7 separate regions of the Homo sapiens genome follow, and all the other regions are linked to region 6. The links are contacts of gene promoters, found by promoter capture Hi-C in human tissues and cell types (Jung and others, 2019). All regions are on one chromosome and are shown on one strand. Each heading gives the region's core, a stretch centred on a gene start or on the middle of the fragment in contact. The rest is flanking DNA. Distances are from core to core; before and after follow the strand shown.

Region 1 (4,121 bases), core at 204-2,703, 650 kb before region 6:
CGTCTCTACTAAAAAGACAAAAATTAGCCAGGCGTAATGGCGGGTGCCTGTAATCCCAGCTACTTGGGAGGCTGAGGCAGGAGAATTGCTTGAACCTAGGAGGTGGAGGTTGCAGTGAGCTTAGATTGCGCCACTGCACTCCAGCCTGGGTGACAAGAGCGAAACTCCGACTCAAAAAAAAGAAAAAAGAATGTCCTATGAAGCCAGGCACAGTGGCTCATGCCTGTAATCCCAGCACTTTGGGAGGCTGAGGCGGGTGGATCGCTTGAGGTTGGGAGTTCGAGACCAGCCTGGCCAACATGGTAAAACCCCAACTCTACTAAAAAATACAAAGAATTAGCTGGGCATGGTAGCGGGAGCCTATAGTCCCAGCTGGTAGGGAGGCTGAGGCAGGAGAATCGCTTGAACCCAGAAGGTGGAGGTTGCAGTGAGCCAAGATCGCGCCATCGCACTCCAGCCTGGGCAACAAGAGTGAAACTCAGTCTCAAAAAAAAAAAAAAAAAAAAAGAATGTCCTATGAAATATTTGGCACATAAATACAGGATGCCCAGGTAAATTTAAATTTCACATAAACTATGTACAGTTTATTTTATTTATTTTATTTTATTTTTTTGAGACAAGGTCTCTCTCTGTCACCCAGGCTGGAGTGCAGTGGCACGATCTCGGCTCACTGCAACCTCCACCTCCTGGGTTCAAGCGATTCTCTTGCCTCAGCCTCCTGAGCAGCTGGGACTACAGGTGCATGCCACCACACCCAGCTAATTTTTGCATTTTTAGTAGAGATGGGGTTTCACCATGTTGGCCAGGCTGGTCTTGAACTCTTGACTTCAAGTGATCCGCCCACCTCAGCCTCCCAAAGTGCTGGGATTACAGGCATGAGCCACCGCACCCAGCCAAACAATGTGCAATTTTTAAGTATAATTACATCTTGCAATATTTGGGATGTAGTTATGCTAAAAAAAATTCATCACTCATTTGAAATTCAAATTTAACTGGACATGCTGTATTTTTATTTGCTAAGTCTGGCCATCAGTATGTGATGCTGAATAAATGCTACTTACCAGTGCTGTGAACTCCAGGGCAGAGCTCCCTCCTGTTACACTAACTAGCCTGGAGAGTTCCGCCACCAGAGAGCCAATTTCTCGGCCGCCTTTGGGTGCTGACTCAGCTCTCTGATGACCCAAGTTTATGAGTTACCTGTGAGAATATCTGGGCCCCCAGTTTTCTCAAGAGTCAGCCCCAGATCCCCAATTCTGCCTCTCAAAATCGAGGAATAGGAGCCCTGGCTTTTTCCAGCAGCAGCTGGAATCAATAAGCAGCCCTGATGTGTGGGGTGGGCTGGAACACAGCCTGCTACCTTGAGCCCTGCAGTATTGATCGCACAGGCAGCTGTCTGTAAACCAAGCAGGCATGCTGAAATGGGGTAGTGTTGTCAGCCTTCACTTTCATAGGGATGACTCTTCAGATTTCTCTCAAAGCCTGTCGGGCTCAAAGGGAAAACCAGCAAGTTCTTTTTTTTCACTAATGTAATGCCTTGGGGAGCTGCCGCATTACATTCTTTTTTTCTTTTTTCTTTTTTAGTGCAAAGTTGTGGGGGTGGAAGGCAGAAACCACAACAATCCTCTCTCTTTTGGGACTCTCTCTCTTAAATGTGGTCCATCATTCAGTTTTAATAACTGAAGCACAAAATATGAAAACTAAAAAAAGTCATTTTTTATCGAAAGCCTCAAATGTACTGGGCATGAGAGCGAGCAGTTTGTATGTCTTGTGGTGTTTTATGCTTCTAATGATTCTCTGAGATTGATATTTATTACTATTCCCATTTTACAGATTCAGAAATGGAGGCTCACCCAGGCTAAGTAATTTGCTCAGGGCCGTGCGTCCCGCAGTGAGTCTGCTATGGTCGAAACCCAGGTCTGTTTGACATCTAACACTACTGTCTGCTCAATGAGCCCAAGACATTGCAAACACTGCTGGCTTGTCATCCTAGCTTGTCCTTTTAGATTCCTGAGTGATGAACATCCTCTGAGAAACTGTCCCTGGTTGCTCTGAAAAAAGCCGGGTACCTCCCTCTGCTCTCAGATGACTTTCTTCCCACCTGTGTGTTGTAGAACCTCCCTGTGGGGCTGTAAAAACACATCCACCTTTCTGTGTCCTCATTAATCCACAAGGTCCTCCAGGGCAGCGGCAAAATTGTTTTTCTACCAAGTGTGCTCCTCTCTAGCTGCAGGGACTAGACTATCGTTTAGCACACAAGCTCTATAAATATCTGCTCGTGGTTATTACTGTTTTGAAATCTCTTTTCCCATTTGTTTAGGGAGCTTCAAGGATGCTGTCCTGTCACCATGTTTCATTGTGATGCCGGTCTTCTGCGTTCTTACCTATGTTTTTTACACCGAATTTTGTATTGGCCTGTCCTCATTGAGGACTCATCTGGCTGGTCCATACCAATATTAACAGAAAGTTCTTCCATGGTTGAATGACTGAACAAGTATGGTTGCCATGATGACTATATTTGCACAAATCCAAGTTGGTCTTCTCAATGGTTCTTCCTATAATTTGGTAGAAGGGTATAGAGGTAAATGAACCCAATGGGTAGCCAAATTCCTGCACCTGGGATCTCAAGGTCAATGTTTTTTTTTATCACAGTGATATAGGGTGTCTCTTGGAGACTCAAGAGAAAGAGGGTTGTCAATGAGAGAGGGTAAAAGATGACAGAGTGGCTTTGATCCTACCTTCTCACAAAAGCTTCTTAGAAAAGTCAACCTACTTTTGAGAGGAGCACAGGTTCTCACAAAACCCCTTCCAGGAAGTAGAGAAGCAAACTTTGCCATGATTCTGCTACCAGGAGTAAACATGTGATCCCACATGTACTCTGCCCCTTCAGGGATGAAAGAGCTATGAAGCTGATGGTTGATCCTCAGGGACAGACATTGGCTGAGAGGACTTGATGGATTTCAGATCTGCCCACCTGAAGCCCAAACGCTGAGGAAGTCTCTAAATGGGGATTATAGCATTTAAACATTTTTTATCTTTATGTTCTTCTGCAGGTCTGAGGCCCTTCAGACTAACAGTGATCCCCCTGTCACATTAATTCTTCTCACATAGACTGTTTTTCTTATAGGTCCTATCTGGGGCAAAGATGACTATGACAGAAATCTCAGCTTGTTCTTGCTGACAGAGTTAAATTTGGTCTGTGTTTGCTCTGCACAAGAAGAAAGCCTGAACTGTGCTGAACAACTGTCTTGAGGGCACGTCCAGAGCCACGTTTGTCTCTCTCATGTTCCTCCTTTTATTGTTTTTGTTCCTGTACATATTTCAGTGATGTCAGGATTTTTTTTAAGCCTCCACCTTAGGGGAAGCTCAAGAAATGGTCTGTGTTAGCACTGGTGAGGCCAAGACAGTTTTATGCATATAAGCCTGGCTGTTTGTTGATCCCTTGGAATGAGAAACCAATTGGAATATCCTGGCTGTGAGAAATATAACCCTTGACCAGCCAAAGTCATTTGTCTGCCTTCCCTGTTGAAAGAAGCACATTTAAAATTTCTCACCTGGGAGAAACTTCCTGGAAAGAATATTTCATGCAAAATAATACACTTCTTGGACCTGAGTTGCAATTTGGATTAGAAAAAAATGACCTCATTATGTCTGAGCATATATTTTTGTTAGAAGCCATTCTGAGAACAAGAGCATGTGGCCGGGTGCAGTGGCTCATGCCTGTAATCCCAGCACTTTGGGAGGCCAAGGTGGGCGGACCACTTGAGGTCAAGAGTTTGAGACCAGCCTGGCCAACATGGTGAAACCCGTCTCTACTAAAAATACAAAAATTAGCCAGACGTGGTGTTGCACACCTATAATCCTAGCTATTCAGGGGGCTGAGGCAGGAGAATCGCTGGAACCCGGGAGGCAGAGGTTGCAGTGAGCCGAGATTGTGGCACTGCACTAAAGACTGGAGACAGAGCGAGACTCCATCTCCAAAAAAAAAAAAAAAAAAAGGGGGCATGGGTTATTCAAGGGATTGTTGAGTTGTTTATACATGATCTATACCTTGGAGTAGGTTTTGGATGCATTTTGCTCCACATCCCGAATGAGGGGTTTGAAGGTTGAACTGCTATGTTGAT
Region 2 (3,979 bases), core at 997-3,496, 860 kb before region 6:
TTAAGTTCTCCTTTCAAGATGGTGGAGTAAAGATGTTCCTGTTCCATTCTCCCCAAAATTACCCTAAACAAAGCAGAAAATGAAATACACACAAGCTCTATCTTCCAAAACCAAGAGATCCATATTCACAGAGGGAAATCTATGAAGACCAAGTAGATAAAGAAACAGTAAGTGACTTACAGAGGAAAAGAGCAAACCTGAAGACTTGCTGGAAGGGGCTAGAGGACACCTATGGGGAGCCAGTTCTCTCCACAGAGCAACATGAGGGCCCAAGAAATGGATGCACCAGCTATTGAGGAAGACAGATGGATAATAGGCAGGTAAAAAGGAAGGAATTACTAGATAGTCTCAGTAGAAGCCCTTCACCCCCATATACCTGCTCCTGCTTTGAAAATGCAGGTGCTAATTCACCAAACACCAACAGGAAATGAAAAGTGTATTTTCTGGATAAACTAAACCAGGCATATGTGTAAAGACAGCAGCAGTGGACAAATGCCAGGCTGAGAATGAAATGACTCTATAAAGTCCTGCATACTGACCAGTGAGCCTCTGAGTCCCTCTCTTTGAAGTTTTTTTCTGCTTCCTGTACTGTTTCTTCTGAGAAGTAAGAAGTGATATATATATTTTTAAAGTAACAAAGAAAAAAGGAGGAGTTTGGAGACATTTTTTTAAATCTCCCCTTCTTCCCCCCAAAAAAACCAAATCAGTAAAATATTTAGAAGATAAAGTCAAGAAAATATGCCAAAATATAGAAAAAAGGTAGTCACAGATAACTTACAGGAGAAAATCTCTAAAGTTAGAAGATAAATCCGGGAGGTCTACAATTTGAATAATAGAAATTCCATAAAGAGAAAATGAAAGGATATAAGTCAGAGATAACACAAGAAAATCATCTAGAACTAGAGATGAATTTCCAGACCGAAAATGAATTAAAAAAAGACTTTCACACTAAATCACATCATTACAGAATGCCAGAAAAAGAAAAGATGATATTAAAATATTTTCAGGGGAAACAGAGAAAATCCTTCATATAAAGCCTGAAATTCAAATGGCCTTGGATTTCTCAGGAACCAGTATTCAAAGTTAGAAGAGCAATGCCTCAAAATTCTGGAGGAAAATTATTTCCAGTTTGGAATAGTCATCAATAAAAATGCAAGCAAAGTATGAGAGCTGAATAAAGATAGTTTCAGACATGGAAGGACCTGAACATGTTTACCTTCCATGTGTCTTCTCTTGGGAAGCCACTAAGTAATATGCTCCACCAAAACAAAGAAATAAAGCAAGAAAATAGAAGAAATGAGGCCCAGAAATCAGAGAACCCAACATGGGAAGGCAATAAAAGCAATTCCCAAGATGACTTTAAAACAGGGATTCTCAACCTTGGCTGCACATTAGAATGGCCCGGGGAGCTTTTTTAAACCCTGAAGCCCAGGTCACAATACAGCAGGCTCTCTGGAGGTGCAACCCAGGTATCTGTGATTTTTAAAGCTCCCTAGGTGAATCCAGTGTGCAGAGGAGGCTGAGAACTACTGTGTTAAAGGAAAGTCCCAGAACAACAGCTGTGCGCCAGGCTTACAAACACCCAGGACAGGTTAAAGCAGGAGGAAAGAGGGATCCAGGAGGGAGAGAAAAAAAAAAATCCACAAGTTATCTGACAGGCATAAGTTGGAAAATTGTTTAGAAATTTGCGTCAAGAGGCATTTTGTAGAACAGTCACAAAAGCTGTCAGAAGACAGTCAAATGTTCAAAGGAAACTAAGAAAACGCTAAAATAAAATGTTTAAAGAGTTGTACAGAAGATATAACCAGAGTATACCGACTGGCTTGGCAGTGAGAAAACGTGTATATAGTCATAATAGGGAAAGCTCAAATTACTGAATAATTATAAGAATGAGAGGAAGAAATGAGTTAATAAGGTCTAAAATTGATTAGTCAAGAGATACCAACACATATTAACAGATATTCGGAGCTAACTAAGAAAAGAAACAGGTGGTGGGTTGCATAATGGCCCCCCAAAGACGTCCCAATCCCTGGAATCTGTGAATGTTTCTTTATGTGACAAAAGGGACTTTGCAGAAATTAAGGATCTGGAAGTGGAGAGATTAGCCTGGATAGTCCAGGTGGGCCCATTGTAATCAAAAGGGTCATTATAAGAGGAAGGCAGAAAGGTCAGGGAGGGTGCAGAAGGTTGGGTGAGATGGAAGCTAAACTGGAGCCATGCAGCCGTGTGCCAAGGGTTTGCGGGGACAGGGGACAGATGCCCCCCGGAAGCTTCAAAAGGAACCATTCCTGTTGATACCCTCATTTTAGCATTTTAAAACCCATTTTTATTGCTGACCTCCAGAAGTGTTAAGAGAATAAATTTTTGTTCTATTAGGTCACTACATTCGTGGTAATTTGTTACAGCAGCAAAGGGAAGTGTTCAAATGTTGCGGTGGAAGTGGGATTCAAGCGGCGCAAAGGGACACATGTTAAGTACTTTATTTGACTTCTTAATGAATGAGCATGTGACACGTAGATAAAAATTACAATAATCAACCTGCACTGAGTGCTCACAGTAGTGTGAGAGAGGAGAGCTGGAGAGGCATGAGCTATAGAGCTTGGCCCCTCAGACATTAACGTGCACACACATCTTCCATGGACTGTATTAAATACAAGCTCTGATTCAGGAGGTCTGCAGTGGGGCCTGAGATTGATCTGCATCTAAATCTTTGCTCCTGATTTCAAAAGCTTTGCTTCCCCTTACCTTGCTTGCAAAAGCTTTGCTTCCCCTCACCCCTTTGCAGAAGCAAAGATTTAGACTCGAGGCCAGTCCTCCAGACCCCAGAGGACTAGAAAGGGGCCATTCTAAAGAAAGAGACAGAATCTAGAATTAAAGGAGAGACGGAGGGACAGAGAGAGGAAAGGACTTTGTGCCTAAGCTAAGACATTTTGATTTTATCCTTGAAGATATGGGGGACCACTGAATGATTTGGGGAAGTGAAACACCAGGATAAGATTTTTTCACATCGTTATTCTTCGTTGAGGAAGTAGGGGCATAAGGCCGGGTGCGGTGGCTCACACCTGTAATCCCAGCACTTTGGGAGGCCAAGGTGGGTGGATCATTTCAGCCCAGGAGTTTGAGATCACCCTGCGCAATGTGGCAAAACCCTGTCTCTACAAAAACTACAAAAGTTAGCTGGGCGTGGGGGTGCGTGCCTGTGGTCCCAGCCACTTAGGAGGCTGAGGTGGCAGGATGGCTTGAACCTGGGAGGTGGAGGTTGCAGTGAGCCAAGATCATGCTGCTGCACTCCAGCCTGGGTGACAGAGTGAGACCCTGTCTAAAAATAAATAAATAAATAAAAAATGGGGGCAGCAAACCAGAGACTAGAAACCATTTCATATTTGACTAGAAATATGCAGCGATGGTCGCTGAGGAAGGTCTGATGATGCTGGTACTTCTGCCTACACACACAATACAGAGAACTATATTAATCCACATGTAAAAGTGAACCCTGTAAATATCTCTTGTCTGAAGTCCTAAGCCAAAAGGAATTTTCTTGTAACCACTAAAGGATTTTTCTTGTAATCTTTTACATTGACATAATTTTCTAGTATTTATTAAATCCCCATCTGCCAATGGCAGATCCACTTTTAAAGGAGAAAAGTACAAGAGGAAAAATCTTTTCAGGAAAGTTACATTAGGTAGTAAAATTAAAGTATTAAAAATTATATATAAATTCTTCCAGCTCATCACATCCCATATAGATGGCAATCACATAGTGTTCACATTCTATAAGTTGACCATAGCTAAAGTAAACTGCAGGTGTCCTCTTTTTACAAAGAAATGTTCTTCACAGAAGTGCAATGTACATATTTGATTTTCCTACACCATTAGAAATGATTCTGCAAAGCATTCTCAGAAGAATTCTATGCATATGGATGAGACAGAATGAGAAGAGTATAATATGGGTAAAAAGTCAATTAAATATATTGAACAC
Region 3 (4,328 bases), core at 429-2,928, 630 kb before region 6:
TCCATTTATTCTTTTGATAAAGCGTTGATGCCGTGAGCCAGCATACATTAAATTTATCATGATACAAACACAGCACTACACTCTTATCCAGCCCAGATCAGCAACCAGATCACTGCCAGTGCCCCTCAAGTGTCTCTGATGATGAACAGCAAAGGGGACCTGTGGAATTTCTCACGACCATCAAATCTGAAGAAGGAATTCTTCTGAGAGCAGTTTGCAAAGTCTATCACCAGTATCCTGACTCTATTATTAGCTTGCAAGGTAGTTAAAGATATCTTCTCAGCCTTGACTCACTAATAAGCACTTTTAAATATATATCAAAAAGCCCTCTTAATTAAAATGCTTCAACTGCTTTCTACCTCTCTTCTGATAAATGCCAATATCATTAACATGGCTGCTCAGAACCCTGCCTGCCTCTCCAGTCTTGCCTGGCCCCAGACTCCTCTTTCCCTTCTGCTACTTCCCCTAAGTTGAATATTTTTCATTCTTCTTTCACCTGCTTATCTCCTACTCATCCTTCTCTTGTCATGTCAATTATCACTTTCTTGAGGAAGCTTTTCCTAACCCACCCCATGTCCCATCCACCTACTTGCCCCTGATCCCCAGGATACGTTAGAGACCTTTGCTTTCACAGAACTGCTACCAAGTCAAGATAGGCTGACATGTGACCATAGCAAGCACCACCAAAACCTCAGGGTGGATGAATGAGGATCCACACTGCTTGAGACACTCAGCTTCCAAGGCCAAGTCCATGAACCTGCCCTCTCCTGGGAGCGCACGGTGTATACATGTATATAGATGTGTATTTATAACCCAATTATTGTAACAAATTATTTATTAGATATAGACATCCATATCTTATCTACATTTCAAGATAGAAGTACTTTGGAAATAGGAAGATACTGTGTCTGTTTCACCTTTGAGTCTCCCACTGTGCCTATAATCTGCACTGACAGACATGAGATGTTCCATAAAGGTCAATTAATTAATGAATGAAATCATGAGCAAATGATTTTTGAAATCATTTTTTCTTACATATTTTTGAGAAATGTAAGCATCTTTGTGTTTTCCCATCAATATTTTTAGAAAGCTTCATTTTTCAACAGCTCTGATTAATAATATAATTGAAAAGCAAAGAAGTCTTTTTAAATATGTACTGTATAAGTCTGTGATACTTTTGATCCCACAGAGAGTCAATTCCATTTAGTTCAATTCAGCAAGTGTTAAGTGCCTATGATGTCAAATGCCTGTAGTGTGGCAACAGAATGCTTCATTTCAGTGGGATAATTTGGGATGAAAAACTTCTAAACACGTTTCAGCTCCTAAGTCTGACTTCAGCAGTCACAAAGCAATTCTCCCATGTTTAGACTATAGCCATTCATTCATTTGTTCAATAAAACTTTATTGGACATCTATTAGATATGATCATGACTGCTCTGGATTAGATCTCTTGAAAACTGTGATACAAAAGAAGAGATTGTGCAAGGTCTTTCCCACTTGGAAAGAAAAGTTAAATAGATAAAGCACCTGAGTAAGAGTAAGCACTGAGTAAAAGACCTGGGTTTAATTTCCCACCTCATTCTGTTGTTAAGTAGTGAAGTGAGCTTAGCAAGTCACTCCATAGCTCTGGGCCTCAATTTGTTATCTGTGTAGTAAGGGCAGTAGACTGGATGATGTCTAAAGAATATTAGAGATTAGAAAGTCATTGTCCTGGATGGCTCACACCAGTCACTGGAGTTGCTTGGCAGGAAGGCATAACAGCATTTTGTACATCTAGAGCTCTGTCCCTCTCATGGGGCAAGTGATGGAAGAATCCAGTGGCAAAGTTAGGTTTAGCAGGAAGTCCTCTCCCAATACCAGGGGTCTGAGTCCCGGTGCCATGCTTTGTTTACCTCTATCACTTGCAAGGATGAAAAAGCATCTCTAGGCCTGGCCCAATGTATGGAATCTAATTCATGGGACTAGATATTTTATTAGCATTTCCAGCTGAATGAGTGATTTGGGGTTGGACAATGTGACAGTGAATAGATGACATATTCCTTAACTAGTGAGTATGAAACTGCATAGAAATAAGATTTCACAATGTTATGATATTAATGTACTTTCTAATATTTTACATGATCCATATGAAGACATATAATTTACAGTTTAGGGTAGATGTACATAGGTAACAAAAATAACTGGAGACTCCTTTTGGAGAAGTCTGCAATTGGATCAATTAGCATACATTCCCTTACAAGTGACTCAAAACCCAACTAGCAAAGACGGAAATTTTAGGAACATTTATTGTTTACCCAGCAAGATGTCTGAAGAGGGTGGTTCCAGGTGTCAGGGCCTGGATTTGTGTCTCTGCCATTTTCTTGCTTTTTCCCAGTCACAAGATAACTAACACAGCTGCAGATATCAAATCCTCACATGACTGATGACTGTAACTACAGAAAGGAAGCAGGGGAGATGAACAGACCTCTCCCTTTGTACCTCTCTCCTAGTATTAGAGAGAAAAACACCTTTCCAGAAGCTTCCCCAGCTGACCTCTCCTCTGTCTCAGCAGCAAAGAAAGTTTGAGAAAGCAGAAATCTGTGGTTTTCAGCCTCTACTTTGGAAGGAAGACAAATTAAAAGCAAGTTGGGGATGTCTGTGGATAGGCTGCCAAAGTGCTTACCAGAATCCATCCCACAGGCCACCCACCATCTGTAGATATCTTTCCTCTCCCACAGCCACTGTGGGTGGAATGCTGTGGCCCATTGTCTGAGAGAGAACTCCACAGGATCATCCAGTTACTGTAGCTAGCACCAAATCTTGCACATCTGGGTGATTTGTAGTCTCCATGCCATCACATCTCGGTGTAGATTCCTACGGTGTAGCAGTTGATAACTAAAAGAAAATGTGTCTGCTTCAAATGCAATGATGCTGAAGTTTAATTTACCTTTCATTAAAACTTGCAATTGGAAAAAAGAATGATAGGAAACACAATCGTCACTGTGGGTTTTTTTCCCCCCACATATCTAGTTTTGTTGATCTAGAATAATGAGGTTGAGAGAGGATTAAACTCCTTGGTTAGCCCATCTGGCAGCCTATAATACTGATCTTTGGGAAAATGTTCCTCATTCATGTCCTCTGTGACCCACCTGAGACATTAGAGAAGACGCTCCCCTTAGAAATTGCACAGCCTTTCCAGCTCACTTCGTTTTAGATCAAGGTTTTGGGATCTTGATATTGTCTTAGGAGTTAAACAGAGCTCAATGGTCATAGCCTGTTGTTGACCAGCCTTAGAGTCTATCTGGTCATGCAATTGCTTCAAAATCTTAGTGGGCTTTCTGATATCTTTGCTTCAAGTCAATTTCTGCAACTAATGTGTCTGTTTGGGTTCTTTAGGAAGCAGAACACTGAGATGGAGTTAGGAGTGTAAGCAATTTATTTTTAGGTGGTGACACTTATGAAAGCTAAAAGTTAAGGAGGCTGGATTGGAAAGGGAGAACCTTCAGACTATGATGTAAATCTCACACCTGTCACAAGAGATGGGGTAGAAGTAGGATTGGGCAGGAGAATCCTCAGACTATGACACAGATCTGGCAGAAGTCTTTGCCAACTCAACAGGGAACTGCAGAGCAAAGACAGCTCATTAAGAGAGCTACACATTGGGCAGAAATAGCCCGGACCTTGGATGCCTACTGTACTTGTCATTATCTAGAAGCTGCTCAGAAACAGTATGATTTCCACTCCAAAGTGGAGCAGGATCCCAAAGGAACTGGCGGCTGTCAGCTAACCACTCTCACTGCAAGTTCTTTCTCGAAGGGAGATCTGATTAGGGCACCTCCATGGTGGCCATGGCCCAGGATCTGGTCTGGCTGCTTCATCTGTCTCCCCTCTTTATAGGCTTAATGGTGGTTGTTCTGAAGCAATTCAGAATAAGAGGTTGGGTGCAGAGGCTCTATTTTGATCAGACCTTTGCCAGCAGACTTGCCTTCTTTGCCTGTCGAAGAATGATGGATGAGGGGAGTTTGGGAACTTGGGAATGTTGTCAGTCTTATTTCTTGTTATGTCTATACTCCCCTGCTTCTGACTCCAGCATGTCTCCAAATTATGAAACTCTCAGTTAATTCAGACCTCACACTACTAACAGAGAACATCTCAGAAGAGTTCCTTCTCTTTCCTCCCTCCTGACAGATTTTCTCTAATCTGTGTTCATCTTCTTCTTGCAGGACTTTGCCAAAAGCTTCAAGAAGTAGCCAACATAACTCAACATCCAAAATGTCTCCTGCCATTTCCCTTAACACTACAGCCTCAGCTGGCACGTGATTGGAATCTCAAGGCATGACAAGCAAGAG
Region 4 (3,818 bases), core at 274-2,773, 910 kb before region 6:
GGGACGAGTTGCACTGGTCACAGAGACTAGGAAGGGACTGATGTGTAAAAGAATGCCTGGACGTCAGGCACCTCAGACTGTTTGCCTATTTTACGACAAGAATTATTGAATTTTGCAGGATGGAAAAATTCAAAGTGCCATTTTCTGGCTATTTGGAACTACTGTCGAGTTTGTATTGGGGTCAAGCAGCATTGCAGAAGAAAATAAGGCATTTAGGTTTTAGGTCAGATGTGAGTTGAAGAGGTTTTAAGTTTTTGAGAACACAGGCTAAGGGAGAAGAAGGAGGAATGGAAGGTGGAAGCTTACCCATAGTGAAGGAGGCAAGCCCAGAGAAAAGAGTAGAGACAGGGAGAAGGGGCGGAGGGTTCTTGCCCTCCAGGAAAGCAGAGAAGGGGTTGGGGCAGGGAAATAAGGGATTGGGGCACAGAGATAAGAGGTCAGGGTGCAGAAATAAGTGATTGGGGCACAGAGATAAGAGGTTGGGGTGCGGCGGAAATAAGCGATTGGGGGGTTCTTGCCCCCTAGGAAAGCGGGACTTGCCGCTAAGGGTGAAGGAGAAGGGGTTGAGGGGTACTTGCCCCTGCCCCAGGAAAGCAGCACTTGCTGCTAAGGGTGAAGGGGAAGGGGTTGAGGGGTACTTGCCCCTGCCCCAGGAAAGCGGGACTTGCCGCTAAGGGTGAAGGACCAAGGCAGGCGTCCCTGCATGGTCTGACACCCTTGAAACGTGAGTGTATACTCAGAGAGGCGTCCCTGCAATGATCAAACACCAAGGGAAGGCTGCCTTCCCAGTCCGTGACCGGCGCCGGAGTTTTGGGTTCACGGATAAAACATGTCTCTTTTGTCTCTACCAGAAAATGAAAGGAATTGAAATTAAGAGAAGGGAGAGATTGAAGTGTGGCGCCACGATTGAAAGGAGAAAGAGGTTGAGGGATAGTGAGGGAGGTTGGAGAAGAGAGTAAAAAGAGGCCGCTTACCGGATTTGAAATTGGTGAGATGTTTCTTGGGCTGGTCGGTCTGAGGACCTGAGGTCGTAGGTGGATCTTTCTCATGGAGCAAAGAACAGGAGGACAGGGGATTGATCTCCCAAGGGAGGTCCCCCAATCCGAGTCACAGCACCAAATTTCATGCGCGTCCGTGTGAAGAGACCACCAAACAGGCTTTGTGTGAGAGCAGTAAAGCTGTTTATTTCACCTGGGTGCAGGTGGGCTGAGTCCGAAAAGAGAGTCAGCGAAGGGAAATAAGCGTGGGGCCGTTTTATAGGATTTGGGTAGGTAAAGGAAAATTACAGTCAAAGGGGGTTTGTTCTCTGGCGGGTAGGAGTGGGGGTCGCAAGGTGCTCAGTGGGGGTGCTTTTTGAGCCAGGATGAGCCAGGAAAAGGACTTTCACAAGGTAATGTCATCAGTTAAGGCAAGGACCAGCCATTTACACTTCTTTTGTGGTGGAATGTCATCAGTTACGGTGGGGCAAGGCATATTCACTTCTTTTGTGATTCTTCAGTTACTTCAGGCCATCTGGGCGTATACGTGCAAGTCACGGGGGATGCGATGGCTTGGCTTGGGCTCAGAGGCCTGACAGTAACACGTTTTAACTTTGCAAAAAATGTTTTGGCATTAATGGGCTCAAAAAGTGAAAGGAAATGTGTAATGGAAAATCAAATACTTTGTTCATGAGAATGTTAATGACAAACCTATAAATCCCAAAATGTTTATCAACACTTACCATGGGGGCTATATGACATCACTCACCACATGAAAAATAGAAAACACGAATCTGCTAAACTATTAGTATCTACTCTCATTCGAGAGTACATTTGAGATACATACTGTGCATGAACATGAGGACTTGACACGTGCAGACAAGGAAAGTATCCTGTGAAGCATGGCTTTTCATTTGGATCAAATGACTGCCTCTCTAAATCTGCACTCTGTGTCTGTTGTACACATACAAAAAGTGAAGCTGATGGGGTTCAGGGCATGCTGCTCCAAAATATGGTTCCTTGGCGTATTGAATATTTTAAACGGAAGAAATTTGAGGAAAACAGCAGAAGCGGGAAAGTGTCTCTGACTTTCCCCCAGCCTCCTTCCCTGATGCAGTTCATAAAACCTAGGAAAGATTTTCTGACCTTCCCCTGAAAGAGGTCATAGACTCTCATGTAAGATGTGCCCTCTCTATGCCAGGAAGAAAGGAACATCCTTATCCCTGAAAACAAAAGGTCACAGAAGGGAAACTGAACAAACTGGCCTTGCTGAGTTTCCCCAGTTTATAATCATCATGTCATACTTTTCACCCTATTATATTTCTCTATGACTCTCCTCTCTTCATCAAACCCAGCATAAAAATACACAGGTTTAAAAAATACACAGGTTTAACTGTTTCTTCAGGTATTTATTTCCTTATGAAAGCTCCCATTTCATGTAAAATGCATGTTAAATAAACATGTAAGCTTTTCTCTGGTTCATCTGTCTTTTGTTATAGGGGCCTCAGCCATGAACCTAAGATGGAGAGAGGAAAAGCTGGTCTCCTCCCCTACAAAGCGATAGATGGTAAGGTGCTGGATCCAATGGCAGAAAAAAAAGTTTCAAACAATTAAATGATGCCACTTTTATAGAAATGGAGTCAGATGCTTCATATTGGAAAACAGTTATTTTCAACAATGATTCCTTTTATTTTCATCCAATTCATGGTATCAAAGTAAAACATTTGGAATTTTATTTTGCTGACGGTAAAAACATCTGATATTACTAGAGTGAGATGTCATTGTAAATCCAGTTAAATGAATCAGTGCTATCATAAATTGTTTTTAAAAGTTCAAACTAAAGTTATCTTTGTGTCATAATTAAGTACAAATTTTGGCATAGCACAGTGTCATTGTAAAAGCATGTTTTTTCTAAAGAATTATGGAGCAGAAATGTACTGGGAATTAGATGTGCAACATGATTCATACTTGTACTCAAACAAGTAGTGATAATCTACCAATCAAAATAGTAGCAGTCACGAAGAATTTATAAATATGATATATATGTATACACTTAAAATATCTAAACTATAGTTTTTGCAAAAATATGATTTTAAATACAAGGCAGTATCATGTGTTTTTCTCTCTTTGCTGTCTGCCATAAGGAGAATTTTAGAAATATTTGAGCATTGAAGAAATAATTTGTATATCAATCTAAGTATCTTTTTGTTGAATTCTTTTTAAAAATTAGCTCTCTAAATCTGGGCTGAATTTGTCCAAATCAGTTAGAAATCTTTGATCAGCACTTTCAATGAATAGAGTTTCAAAAAACTTTAGCTTTCCACATGTTTAGACAATTGGAATTATTAGTAACAAGTCTTAAAAACAAGAAGACACCAAAGTGTATCCCCACCAAAGCATGAAGAAACTAAACAAATTAAGTACGTTAAAAAGAGTATATTCTCAATCCTGATATGGTCTACAGAGAAGGTTCATTTCAAATTTATTAGTCATTAAATGCAAATTTGAAGAAAATATTGGGACAATTTTATTTAAAATTTTAACATAGCAAGACCATATAAGGAAAAGAAAACATTCTTTAGAAAAATAGAATGACATGGTATTTGAGACAAATGTGTTTTCAAAAAATGACTAAAGGGGTAATTATTCTGATTATATTATTGTAAAATTTCTACTTTTTATATATGTAAAGAAGTTTTAAAAGTTTTCTTTGGTGTACACAGATATATGTTATTCTACTTTCTAGAAAAAATATTTTTGAAATAGTGTTTCAAAATAATTATTTGGCAGATCCATCAAAAAATAAAAATGTATTTGTCAGTTAGTAAATTTTTGAAAAAA
Region 5 (4,007 bases), core at 591-3,090, 900 kb before region 6:
TATACAGCAGAAAGGTGACTTCTAAGAGGACCTTGATGTAGGGAGATAGATTGGTGAGTCTCCACTCCTACCATGTGCAAAGGGTCAAGAAACCTCCATCAAGCCTTCTGCAGTGCTGGGCCACGCTACGTATGGAATACACACCATTGCTGTTTCTTCTAACACTTTGAGAAATTAAAATCTCAGGTTGCCTCATTGGTCATAGGAAATGCTTAACTGCCCCTGAAGACATAGGATTTAGAGTTTCCACAGCATCCCAAAGAGCCTCACCTATTGTATCAGAGGAAATATTATTTAAAGGGATGTTTTTAAGTGACCCACCTTAGGTGCCTCGAAAAAACTAATAGAGAACCCTAGAAAAATAAAAAAATATATTTTTTACATATAAAAGCAATTATTGAAGAATAAATGTATATGTTAAGAAATATGAGAAGACTGATTTAAATTAACAATGATTAAAAAATAAAAATCAATCCACCTAACATACACACTTATTGGGGGCCTACTGCTTAAGTGTCTATATGACATTTCAAGAAACCACTGCTTCTTTCCATGGCTTGGTTTTATCATAATTTCTGCCTTCCTCCTTGTTTACTCTGTCTCTGGCTTTTTACTGGTTCCGATATTTCCTCCAAGCCTCTGTGAATTGAGGCATAGCTTTCCTCTTTCATTCTTTGGAGAAGCTCAGTCCTCATCTATCAGTCTTTAAATGGTGACATATCCTTAATTTAATAGTAATTCAAATATATTGATATAATTTAAGTTGCTAATTCTATATATTAATTTTGTCCACTTGTTATTTGCAGAACATGTCCTAAATAAAAGTTTAATTTATGGCCTCTCCTCTTACTTTTGTATGATATTCTTTTATGAACAGATGTTTTAAAATTTAATGTAGATATAGTTATCTTTTTTGTTATTGTTGTTTATACCTTGGGTCTTACAAAATCCTTTCTCAGCTCTATTTTATAAACAGCCTCTTTTATTTTCTAAAATGTAAAAGTCTTCCTTCCTACTTATAAGCTTTAATCCAGTTAGAATTTTTTTATGAATTATGTCGGGACCTAATTTCATGTAAGTACTCAATTGTCCCCACAGCATTTGCCAGAGTCTGTTTCCCCCCAGTGATGTGCTCTGCCCCGTCTGTCATACAAAAAACTAAAAAATTCAGAAATGTTGGGTGTGCTGGGCCAACTGCATACCGCATTAAATACACAATTAAGTCCCCATATATACTTCTTTATCTTTAGGAGTGAATTGGTTACTCTCAGTTCTTTGCTTTGATTCCAATTTATGTGAATCTATAGCTTATTTGAGAGCTCATTCCTATCTATTAACAAGGTATAACTCTCCATTTATTTATTCCACAGCATCTTTCTACAAAATTTAAGAATTTTTTTTCTTTTCTTTTTTTTTTTTTTTTTTTGAGAAAGAGTCTCGCTCTGTCACCCAGGCTGGACTGTGGTGGCGCAATCCCTGCTCACCGCAAGCTCCGCCTCCCAGGTTCACGCCATTCTCCCGCCTCAGCCTCCCAAGTAGCTGGGACTACAGGAGCCCGCCACCACGCCCGGCTAATATTTTTGTGTTTTTAGTAGAGACGGGGTTTCATCTTGTTAGCCAGGATGGTCTCGATCTCCTGACCTCGTGATCCGCCCACCTCGGCCTCCCAATGTGGTGGGATTACAGGCGTGAGCTACCGCTCCCGGCTAATTTTAGAATTTTTTAAAAAGGGTCATTCATATTTTTGGTTGGATCTTTTTATTAGATTTTTTATTTATTCCTAATGTGTAGAAATGTAGTTTTTACATATTGATCTTATATCTACTAACAGTGCCAAGCCTTTTTTTCTTCTAATAATTTGAATGTAAATTCTTTTGGATTTTCTACGTAAATAATTGTATCATCTGTGATTTATAAAGGCTTTTTTTCCCCCTTTTCAATCCTTATATCTTAACGGAAATGTTTTTAATGTATTTTTATTATTATTATACAGTTTTGATCCCTTTATGAGGCAAAGAAATTTCCCTTCTATTCCTAGTTTCCTAGAAGATTTTACCACAAGTGAGTATTGTAATTTAGCAAATGCTTTTTCTGTACTAATTGAGATGATCGTATGGAGTTTCTTTTATAATTTATGAGGTGAATTATCTCAGTAGGTTTTTTGTTTTGTCTGCAATAAGCCAAGCTTGCAATTCTGGAACAAATTCTATCTCATCAGGATATGTTATGCTTTTTCATATTTATTCTGTCAAAATCTTGTGATTGTTTTGAATCTATGTTTATGAGTGATAGTCTATTTTTTTTCTATACGGTCTTTGTCTAATTTTAATTCAAAGTCATGTTTACCTGCTTAATCATTTTGGATAATACTTCCTTCTTTTTAATCAGAAAAACTTTCTAGACATTTGAAATAATCTGTTCCTTGAAAGTTTAATAGAATTTGGCTCTAATATGTATAGGCCTGGTCTTCGTTTAATGGGAAGACAGTAAGACATAGATGTTGATAGTGTTTGTATCATTTTGCATGCCCACCAATAATGTGTAAAGTACCCACTTCCCCACAGCCTTGCCAACAGAGTATATTGTCAATATTTTAGGAGGGTTTTTTTTGCCAAATAATTGATAAGAAATGGCATTTTGGTTTAATTCTTTTTGAAGTCTGCTTGGTTGTCTTTCATTATCTCCTATTTTTTCCTCATTATTTCAAATCCAATTTTTATTTCATCAAACGTTTTATACATCGTGATTTTAAATTCAGTATCTAATCATTTTAGCATGTGAAATCATCTGGCTCTAAGTCTTTCTATTGTGTTTGTGATGTTGAATCACAACCACTTGTTTCCTTGTGTGTGTGGTAAGTTCCAGTTATTGTTTTATGCCTGGGATACACCACTGAACACAACAATCCAATGGCCCCACCCTTGTAGAATGTGGAACATACATCACCACAGGGAGAGGCGAAGAGTAAACAGTCAACAAAACATACAAGGAAATTATGTTTTAAAAGTATGTTAGAAGTTGAAGAGTGCTATAGAAAAAGGGAGGGGAGCCTAGAAAGGGGACTGCAGGAGCCAGGGTGAGAGGACAGGCAGCAGCTTTAACTAGGATGCCAAGGTAATCTCACTGAGACCGTGGAATTCAAGAAAGTAAATGAAGGAGGACAAACCATATGGATATTTTGGAGAATAGTGTAGACAGAGCACCCAGTGCTCTCAGCAAGAAAGCTGGTGTGGCTAGAGAGAAATGAAGAAGGAGAGCAGCAGGAGAGCCAGAGGGCTAAGAAGGAGTCTGGATCATGCAGCACCTGGTAAGCTGCTGGAAGGACTTCGGCTTTTACTCCAAGTGATTTGGGGGTGGCGAAAGCCATTGGAGGGGTATGCAGAGTCAGAATCTGACTTCTGTCAGTCTTGTATCGAGAACAGACTGTAGGTAAGTAATTGTGGGAGTAAGGAAACCATCTAGGAGACTACTGCAAGCATCTGGATGAGCACTGAGAGAGGCTGGAAGCAGGATAATGATGATAAGGGTGGTGAGAAGCTGTTGGATTGGATGTATTGGGAAGGAAGAGTCAAGAGGATTTGTTGATGGCTAGCTGTGTGGGTGTGAGAGAGGGATTGCACCGTTATGGAAACAGGAAAATGTGCAGACAGAGCACTAGGGTAAAGGGGATCAAAGGTTAGGTTTTAGACATGTTAAGGCTGAAATGTCTATTACATATCTTGGATAAGTAGAGATGTGTTGGGTAGGCAACTGGGTACACAAGTCTGGAGTTTGGAGGAAGGGGTCTGGGCTGGAAATAGAAACTTGGGAGTCATGAACATATAGATAGTATCTAATTTCATAAGAATGAATGAGTATCTAATTTCATAAGAAAGAATGTATTAAGTGAACATCAGTTCAGAAAGTGGTCCAAGGTAGATCCCTGAGGCACTTCACTGTTGAAAGGACAGGCAGATGCAAGGAATTCAGCAAAGAGGGATGAAAACGGGTTATCACTGAGGTATATG
Region 6 (4,300 bases), core at 224-2,723:
TTAAAAATTGCTACCACCAAACAAATGCAATCTTAACAAAATTGGGATTACAAAGCCAGTTTTTTTCATGTAATGTTACAGCAGTGAAAGATTGAGGGAGAGAAAAGGAGAGAAGCAGGAGTGTATCTGGGTGAAGAAGCGTGGCTCAGTGGCTATACAGTGAGACGCAGAGATTCCACAGAGCTGGGCTTGCCCACCTGTCGACCCCACTTTCCCCATGTGCTCGCCGCGGGATGACAACCACAACACTCCAGAACCACCCCCCTTCCGAAAGAGGGCGGGGTTACGCCTTCAGCCAATCAGGACCCGCGAGCCCCGGGTGTCCAACCTATGGGGTGGCTGTGGCCGTGCAGGGGGAGGACGTGGGGTGGTCTGGGAGGGGCCGCGTCCGTGGGAGGCTCGCACGTGTCGGGTCCGGAGAGGCGGGGAGGCGGCCGGCGTCCAGCGGCCGAGGCGCGGGCTCTGCACCCTGGCAGCGGCCGAGTCCGGCTGCCCCAGTGCCTCCTTTACCTCGCGTTGGGCCAGGCAGGGCGCGCTCCCGCCGACGAAGACCTGTCCAAGGTGTCCGAGCTCCCCGCGAGAGGGGACAGTCACGAATAACAACAGTACCCAGCGCAGACTAGGCGGGGAGGAAAGTTTCCGGCCCGCAGCAGAGCGGAGTCCGCCAAGGCTGGAGGAAAAGGGATGCAGAGCGGGAGGGTGAAAACCTGAAAGAAGAGGGCAGCGGGAACACTGTGTGGGCAGGAACGGGTCCCGGGGGCGACGCCCGCAGGGGGAGACGGGTGCGGGGTGCGCTGTCCAAGGTGCAGGGGAGGTGACTGGCGCGCGGCGGGCGCGGAGCCCGGAGCTGACACTGGCTGGCGGGCGGAGGGGAGAGCGGGGAACAGCTGTCTGGGGCGCTGGGCACCCCCGGGCGCGTAAAAGTGAGGGAGCTTGAGACGGGGCACGGCGGGGAAGGGCGTGGGGGCTGCACCGAAGCCCCCACGCGTCCACGCACCCCTCCTCACCAGCCTCACCTCTAGCTCCACTCCCCTCCCCCCTCGCCCACTCCCCTCTCAGTCTAGATCCAGGTGCCGTGGCGGGGGTGAGACCAGAGGACCCCGGCTCGGAGCCCGGACGCCCCAGGGAGGCTGCGGGCCCCGGAGCTGCTTACCTGGGGCCGCCGTATGGGGAGCGGAGGCAACCCGCTGCGCGGAGTGGGGCGCCGGGCGCGGCGCGGCTCCTCCTAGCCTCGGCGTCCTCCTCCTCCTTTGCTTCTCCCGGACTCTGTCCCGGGCACGGAGCTGGGAGACGCGGCCGGGCTGCAGTCGCCGTTCCCTCTGCTGCCGCCGCCGCTGCAGCAGACAGAGGACGCCCCGTGGCGGCTGGAAGCCTGTGTGAGTAGCGGCGCCCGGGAGAGCGGGGATCTGCTGAGGGGCGCTGGAGACTCCGCGGCTGGAGGCGCGCGGGCGTGCGCACGCGCGCCTGCGAGTGTGAGTGTATGGGTGCGCGCGCGCCCACGGGGTGGGGGAGTCGCGAGGGGAGGGGGAGAGAGGCCGAGAGATGCTCGTAGGGACCGAGGCAAAATTCTACGACCCCGGAAATCCGTAAACGCGGGGAAGGAGGATCGAACGCGTGTCTCGCTTGGAGAAGCTGCCCACGGGGCGGCAGCAGAGGAGGAGGGGAAGTCAGCGAGGCGCGCTAGGGCTCCGGATCCCAGCCCGGCAGAGCCGAGCGGAGCGCGCAGCCACCGATGCAGCAGAGGCGGCGCCCGCAGCCCACGGTCGCGCTGCCCCCTCTCGGGAGGGGCCGAGGCCGCTCGCTCCCGCCACCGCCGCCGCGGTCGGGACTGCTCTACTGGGAGCGGGGGAACCGAGAGAGGGACCGCACGGTTGCTACGGCGACCTTGGAGGGGCCGGGCCCGCTGAAGGGCCAAGAGAAGAACCCGGGCGCACGTGGCCGACTCCAGGCTGGAGCGGGCGTGTTACAGGATTGTGGGCTTGGGGTAGACGGTGGAATTGGGCCGCGTGGCCTGGGCAGATGATGCGGGGTGTGCGGCCCAGAGTGGCTCGGCCGGGGTGCGGTCAGCATTCAGGTTGGTAAGGGTGAGGGGATCCTAACCCCAGGTGACATGTTGCCTTTTTTTCCTCCTTGGAGGCTACTTTTTCTCAAAGTTACCCACTTCCCAGGTAAGAATGCCGGCCTCCTCTTTGTTAGGATTCAACTTAGCTGTGCAGGCATCTAAGCAGTGCCTCCTTAGAGTCAGGCTCGTCCAAGAACCGCTCCCACCACCTCCCCACACACACCCACATCCCCCGATCCTCCATCCCAACTACATTGTAATACTTCAGAAATAAATGTTTAAAGCACATTTACATTCTCTGCCTCTTAACAGATATATTGTCTTAGTAGTATACTTTTCCTTGCTTATTTTAAATTCTGAGTGGGATTTTATTCACACAAGCATTTCTTCAAGGGTCGTAAGGTCTGGGTAATACTTGAAATACCCTTTCTGGCAGGAATCCTCAATGCAGGGATTGTGTTTTGCACACTTTTGCATGCCTTCCAGTGCTTAGCATAGTACTCTGTACTTTGTGAGTTCCCTGTAAATGTTGAATGAATGACATTGTTTTCTAGCTTCACGTAACCTGAAGGCAAAGACTTGGATGCTGGGAAAGTCATTACCACCCCACTAGGCTTGCCTGATTTTAACTTATGCCATTTCCTTGTGTGTGGCTATTTTTCCCCCTGGCGGTCAGAACCCCAATGCAAAGAAAGAAAATAATACTTATCCATTGTGCACCCTTAACAAAGGATGCATGTAGAAGCACTCTGCAGGGACCCCAGTGGGATGCCCTGGGTGTGAGGGGGCCAAAGCTCAGAACCTAACCTCTCAAAATGTGAAAGTCAGTGTTCACCAGCAGTTTATACTGTCCCTTCTAGAGCAGAAGGATGGGGAAAACAGTTTTAAGAGAAATACACTTTTGTTTTTTGTTTTTTGAGACGGAACCTCGCTCTGTCACCCAGGCTGGAGTGCAGTGGCGCGATCTCGGCTCACTGCAACCTCTGCCTCCCGGGTTCAAGCGAATTCTCCTGCCTCAGCCTCCTAGTAGCTAGGATTACAGGCGCCGGCCACCACGCTCGGCTAATTTTTTTTTTTTTTTTTTTTTTTTTTTTTTTTTAGTTTTTAGTTTTTAGTAGAGACACAGTTTCACCATGTTTTCCAGACTGGTCTCCAACTCCTGACCTCAAGTGATCCGCCTGCCTCGGCCTCCCAAAGTGCTGGGATTACAGGCATGAGCCACCGCTCCAGGCCAGAAATACACATTTCTAATAGCTTATCAGGTACGCATTTTTCTCCTGTAAAGAGTAGTGTTCATGGACACTGACCAATACATGCAGGGTCACCCCAGACTGCTAATTCTGCTGTCTGGTGTAGCACCAAGTCCACATCCTTCGACCTCGGTATTTCTACAATCATCGTCTTAGAAGCAGAAGTCTTCAATTTTGCATTTCATGCTAAATTTCAATTCCTTTGAACTCAGGCCCGCCTATGAGCTGCTTCTCTCTCCACTCATGATACCACAGCTGTGAAATATAACTGAAATAAAGTGAAAATTAAAATGGATTTATTTGGGTACCGTGTGTTCTTTAGTGGGGGTCCCTTTAACTGATTTATCTACCTTCACTCAATTGACAATCTTCTTAGAAGACATTTGTTGTGATATTGGAGCTTTTTTATTAGGTTGAAAGCTTACTTAAATTTCTCACTTGAAAGGAAGCTCTAAAACTTGCAAAAGAAGCAGAAAAACTCTGATACCGAAAATGGACCCTTGACAGCCAACCTATAGAATGGGTATGAGTCAGAATTTTCCAAAACAATTTTAAAGCTTCATTTTCCTTAGAAAGTTGCTTTTAGGGTTTTGTTGGGCTCAGAAACTAATACCGGAAAATATGGCACTTTGACATGCTGGACTGAAGAAGCAGCCTCAAAGTCTCTCTGACCCTCTCTCTGCCTCCTGTCTCTCAGTCGTCTGTCTCACCCAAAGCACAGGATGAAATTGTTCTCTGAAGGTCTTTCATCTGCCTAGAAACCAGATCTGCCAAAGAAGAACGCACTTGCCTTCCCTGAGTTTTTATTAATCTAACTCACGTCGTAGGAAGAAAGATTGAAGCCTGTCAACACAACTGGACATACTTTTGTCACACTCCTCTGCGGGCCCAACAGACTTTATCCCAGGCCATTTTATGTTCACCAAGCTCATTGAATTCCACTAAAAATTCTTTACTATCCCCCTTAAAATCATCCACATTTCCCTTT
Region 7 (4,292 bases), core at 950-3,449, 740 kb before region 6:
ACCTCTTGCCTTCTAGAGGTTCATAGCATGGTGAGGGAGGGAAGTTTTGAAGTGTGGCCTGGGATCACAATGGAGGAGTAAGCTGGGAAGTAGTCAGGTGGTGATATTTAAATAGGTAAGACCATAACACTGACATTGATTTCTTTAATGGTTGGATGTTTACTTAATCCTGCTGCCTATCTATAGTGTAGTAGGCCCCCTCTTATCTGTGGGTTCTGTGTTCCAAGACCACCAGTGGATGCCTGAAACCATGGAAAGTACTGAACCCTACAGATACAGTATTGTTTTCCTATAGTACTGGTCCCTTCATACACAATGTTTTTTCCTATATATACATAATTATGATAAAGTTTAATTTATAAATTAGGTACAGTAAGACATTAACAACAAACAATGCAATGGAACAATAATAACTATAGTTGTAATAAAACTTATGTGAGTATGGTCTCTCTTTCTCTGGAAATATATTATTATAACCATGGAAAGCAAAACTGTAAGAGAGGACTACTATAGTTTTGTTTCTTCCTCCTTCTTAGTAGCTGAGAAGCAATATAGAGCAGGCACTCTCCTGTGTTAGGGACAGGGATCAATCATAACATCTTTACATGAAGGGTGGTGAAACAGAAGGGCAGGAGTGCATTAAGAGTCAACTAGGATGGGGGGATATGACTCAAGTGCTCCAGCTCCCAAACTGAAAGCCAGCAGATTCAAAAGAGGGAGAGCTTATCTTGAGAAAAAATGTCATGGTGCCACATAAGGTAGGGACCAGCTGTGGTGGTGTAGCTGGCAAGTCTAAAATTTGTAGGGCAGGCCCACAGTCTGAGAGCTTTCAGATAGGATGAGATTCTTGAGGCAGTATTTCTTCTTCTTCAGAGAAACTTCAATTTTGTTCTTAAATCCTTGCAAATGATTGGTCCATATAGATTGGCCCACATAGATTATCAAAGATAAACTCCATAGGTGTTAGCCACATCTCCAAAATACTTTCATGGCAACCCCAAAATCAGTGTTTGACTAACTGGGTAAGCATAGTGTAGCCAGGTTGACACATAAAATTAACTGTCACCATGTTCCTGGGTTCAAGAACTTAAAGCCAAATATGCAACCTGGTTTGGCAAGCCTGTGATGAGTTCAGGGGCTGCAAGTGCTCTCCAGGCTGTCAGGAAGGACATGGTTGATGACAGGAGCAAGATTTTCTGACCAGTCACATTTATTCACATTTTGGTTTAAAAAAGCTGCTTTTTAAATTTGTTTATTTTTATTTTTTTGAAAGGCTCTGTCACTCAGGCCGGAGTCCAGTGGTATGATCTTGGCTCACTGCAAACCTCCGTCTCCCGGGTTCAAGCGAGTCTCCCCCCTCAGCCTCCCCAGTAGCTGGGACTACAGGCGTGTGCCACCACTCCCAGCTAATTTTTGTATTTTTAGTAGAGACGGGGTTTCACCATGTTGGCCAGACTGGTCTCGAACTCCTGACTCTCAGTTGATCTACCCGCCTTGGTCTCCCAAAGTGCTGGGATTACAGGCATGAGCTGCCATGCCTGACCTCAAAAGCTTCTTATATTATGAGAAAGTAGAGCCATGACTCACACTGTTATTTTGAGTAAATGCAAAACAGTACTTAAAAGATCATTCTTGTTATTATTTATTTACTTATTCTAGACCTTTTCTGACAGTGTGAAAAAGATTATTCTTAAAAAATCATTATCTATAGTGAAGATTTAACTTTGAGGAGTTTTTAATTATGCTGGAGAGTGGAGTAACATTCATTTGGGGTAAGCCTAAGAGTTTTGTTTCCTAACATGTTTGGCCTCTGATTTTGTTGTTTCGCCCTTTTATTTATTCACTAGTCTTGCTGTAGATACTAATGCTTGCCTGTGGTTTAAGAGAAATTAAGCAACTTAAAAACAGAGCAAATAGAAATGTAGTTAGCTTTGCCTTTCTTTTTTGCTTAATGTAAGGGTTTCGTGGGAATTGGTGTTTTGGGAGAAGTTCAAATGTATTTGCTTTTGGCAATGGAACAATAATGGTAAAGGTAGGGTGTCTTAATGTAGATTGGTTCAATTTAGATATGAAAGTCTGAAATTTATATTGGCTTGAAGATTTTAGGGCAGGATAATTTTATAAATTCTCGTTATTGTCATTTTATTGTGTCTGACACTTTTTCTTGAATGTAAATTCTCCTCCCCTCCTTATTCTAATCTGCATGTATAATACCTCTTTTACCCAAATTATATTGATTTGCCAGCAGTCTTTCTTGTTTCCTCTCTTTTTTTCTCCTTTCCACTTGCTGTTGTTTAAATTCAAAGAGTTTTCTTTGTGGAGACTGAACCTAATAGTAAGACAGCATAAAACACTGAGTTCAGCAGAAAGTGATTTGCTTGTGATTAACCCTTGAGAATTAACTCACTGCAAGATAACAAAGAATGAATGTTTTCCAAACATCTGGCTCATTCTTCTTTTCCATTAGTAGATGAGACCTCTCCATTTACCCTCTAGGTGTTAGGAATTCTCATACTGTTTCACTTAGGCTTTATCATACTCGTCACGGCATATTGTTAGAAAGTAAGTCCAAAAGAGAGTTCATGACATACCCTTTCTCTGCCACAGACCTCTCACAGTCCTTGCAGCAAAAGGCAGTTAGTGTCATTCTTTTAGTTGTTCAAGACAATAACCTTGACTCTTCTCTTTTCCTTTTAGTTGCTCAAGACAACTAAAAGGTCCTTTTAGTTCCTTTTGGTTGCAAAGACTTTATTTTCTTTGTCTTCCGAGAGACTTTTGGATATATTTACCTGGTCCAGGGTATTTTGAAGCATGACCATATGTTAGATTCTTAATTACGTTTAACTAGCATTGTCCATTATATTTTCTCATTTCAAAACCTTGACTCCATATCCAGTGTCTCAGCAAATCCTATTGGCCTTACCTCCGAACTCTATCTAGTATCTCACCACTTTCCTCATTTCCATCATTAATCGCTGTAGCCCAAGTGACCATTATCTCTTTCATGGATTATTTTAATAGACTTACAACTCATCCCCATGCCTCTGCTTTTCATCCTCTACAATCTATTCTCAACATGACAAGTAGAATGATCCTTAGAATTTTAATTGAAATAATCTTAGGCCTCTGCTCAAAACAATGATGTACTGTATCACTCGGAGAAAAGCTAGTCTTTATGTTGACCATATAAGGCCCAGCATGATCTGCTCCCCTTGTGACCTGTTCGACCTTGTTGCCTATTTTTTTCTCTTTCTCTTCCTGCTGTATGCACACTGGCCTTCTGGCTATTCGTTAGGCACACTGGGCACACCTGTGCTTTAGGGACTTTACACTTGTTCCCATTGCTAGTCCAAAATCTAAGGAATCCTTTTTCTTGCTTTAATTTTTTTCCAAAAGTCATTTTTTTCAGTGAAGCTTGCCCTACTCACTTTAAATTTGTTGCTCTTGTAGCAGGACAAGCCGCAGGCAAAACCTCTCAGACATCGAGTTGTAGAAGGAAGGGCTTTATTCAGCTGGGAGCATCGGCAAGCTACTGTCTTAAAATCCAAGCTCCCCGAGTGCACAATTTCCGTCCCTTTTACGGGCACACAACACTAAAGATTTTATATGAAAGGGTTGTGATTGATTGAGCAATCTAGGGGATATGTGACGGGGTTTCATGCACTGGTAGTCAGAGTGAAACAGAACAGAGCAGGGAGTTTCACAATGTTCTTCCATACAATGCCTGAAATCTATGGGTAACATCGGGTTCTAAGTCATGAGTTGATTTTTAACTACTAGGTTTAGGCCATGCAGGCTCGGGCGTGGTTTTGGGCCTGGGGCCAGGCTGCCTGTCTTTGATTTCACTTCCTTGTTTTTTTCTTAAAACAGGTACTGAGTATAAAATATAAAACAATGTGAGAGGGTCTCTCTCTTCCCTCACTCTCACCATACAAACACATACCTACTTCTTTATCTGCTTAATTTTTTTCCATAGCACAAATCACTGCGTAAAATAATTATATATTTTTCCTGTTAAAATTGTTTGTTGTCTGTCTCTCTTGCTAAAATGTACCTTCATGAGGATAGGGATTTTGTCTGATATATCCCTAGGGCTTAAAATCATGACTGGCACATAGTAAATACTGAGTATTTATTGAATTAATTAATGAACCAGTCAGAGATGGGAAATAGCCTTCAAGTGCCTGTTTGCTAAATTACCTAACCTTTTTATTGGGAGTTTATTTTCCTTAATGTTTGTTTAACAAATTAGTTATTCTTTCATGTTTTCCACATAACCTGTGGATTATCTT

Evidence for each region. Contacts are between HindIII fragments. The study calls those that stand out against the background at their distance.
Region 1: a contact is called between a fragment that was not itself captured here and the fragment with the promoter of ENOX1 in region 6, in 4 of the 25 tissues and cell types used here (H1 embryonic stem cells, bladder, dorsolateral prefrontal cortex and 1 more).
Region 2: a contact is called between a fragment that was not itself captured here and the fragment with the promoter of ENOX1 in region 6, in 3 of the 25 tissues and cell types used here (H1 embryonic stem cells, lymphoblastoid cells and mesenchymal stem cells).
Region 3: a contact is called between a fragment that was not itself captured here and the fragment with the promoter of ENOX1 in region 6, in 5 of the 25 tissues and cell types used here (bladder, dorsolateral prefrontal cortex, hippocampus and 2 more).
Region 4: a contact is called between a fragment that was not itself captured here and the fragment with the promoter of ENOX1 in region 6, in 2 of the 25 tissues and cell types used here (heart left ventricle and lymphoblastoid cells).
Region 5: a fragment that was not itself captured here is called in contact with the fragment with the promoter of ENOX1 in region 6 in 1 of the 25 tissues and cell types used here (lymphoblastoid cells).
Region 7: a contact is called between a fragment that was not itself captured here and the fragment with the promoter of ENOX1 in region 6, in 3 of the 25 tissues and cell types used here (IMR-90 fibroblasts, dorsolateral prefrontal cortex and lymphoblastoid cells).

Annotation. Positions count from the first base shown.
Region 1 is chr13:43,135,992-43,140,112 of GRCh38, forward strand. The region is part of intron 1 of LINC00400 (long intergenic non-protein coding RNA 400); the gene reads left to right. Among named protein-coding and RNA genes, the nearest start is that of LINC00400, 25 kb to the left of the region's middle. The HindIII fragment of the contact is 5,587 bases long and covers 1-4,121 here.
Region 2 is chr13:42,920,239-42,924,217 of GRCh38, forward strand. All of the region lies in intron 7 of EPSTI1 (epithelial stromal interaction 1), which reads right to left. Among named protein-coding and RNA genes, the nearest start is that of LINC00428, 49 kb to the left of the region's middle. The HindIII fragment of the contact is 3,812 bases long and covers 341-3,979 here.
Region 3 is chr13:43,154,431-43,158,758 of GRCh38, forward strand. LINC00400 (long intergenic non-protein coding RNA 400) reads left to right here. Exons shown (of 3, transcript NR_047013.1): 2 at 4,203-4,328. Among named protein-coding and RNA genes, the nearest start is that of LINC00400, 43 kb to the left of the region's middle. The HindIII fragment of the contact is 3,377 bases long and covers 1-3,367 here.
Region 4 is chr13:42,871,584-42,875,401 of GRCh38, forward strand. LINC00428 (long intergenic non-protein coding RNA 428) reads right to left here and starts at 1,161. Exons shown (of 5, transcript NR_126389.1): 1 at 975-1,161. RefSeq lists an enhancer at 1,068-1,856. The HindIII fragment of the contact is 4,549 bases long and covers 1-3,798 here.
Region 5 is chr13:42,888,890-42,892,896 of GRCh38, forward strand. All of the region lies in intron 10 of EPSTI1 (epithelial stromal interaction 1), which reads right to left. Among named protein-coding and RNA genes, the nearest start is that of LINC00428, 18 kb to the left of the region's middle. The HindIII fragment of the contact is 3,443 bases long and covers 120-3,562 here.
Region 6 is chr13:43,785,499-43,789,798 of GRCh38, forward strand. ENOX1 (ecto-NOX disulfide-thiol exchanger 1) reads right to left here and starts at 1,474. Exons shown (of 17, transcript NM_001347969.2): 1 at 1,154-1,474. The HindIII fragment of the contact is 9,406 bases long and covers 1-4,253 here.
Region 7 is chr13:43,041,865-43,046,156 of GRCh38, forward strand. The region is part of intron 1 of DNAJC15 (DnaJ heat shock protein family (Hsp40) member C15); the gene reads left to right. Among named protein-coding and RNA genes, the nearest start is that of DNAJC15, 20 kb to the left of the region's middle. RefSeq lists enhancers at 1-41, 3,734-3,783, 3,884-3,943, 4,285-4,292. The HindIII fragment of the contact is 4,545 bases long and covers 1-4,292 here.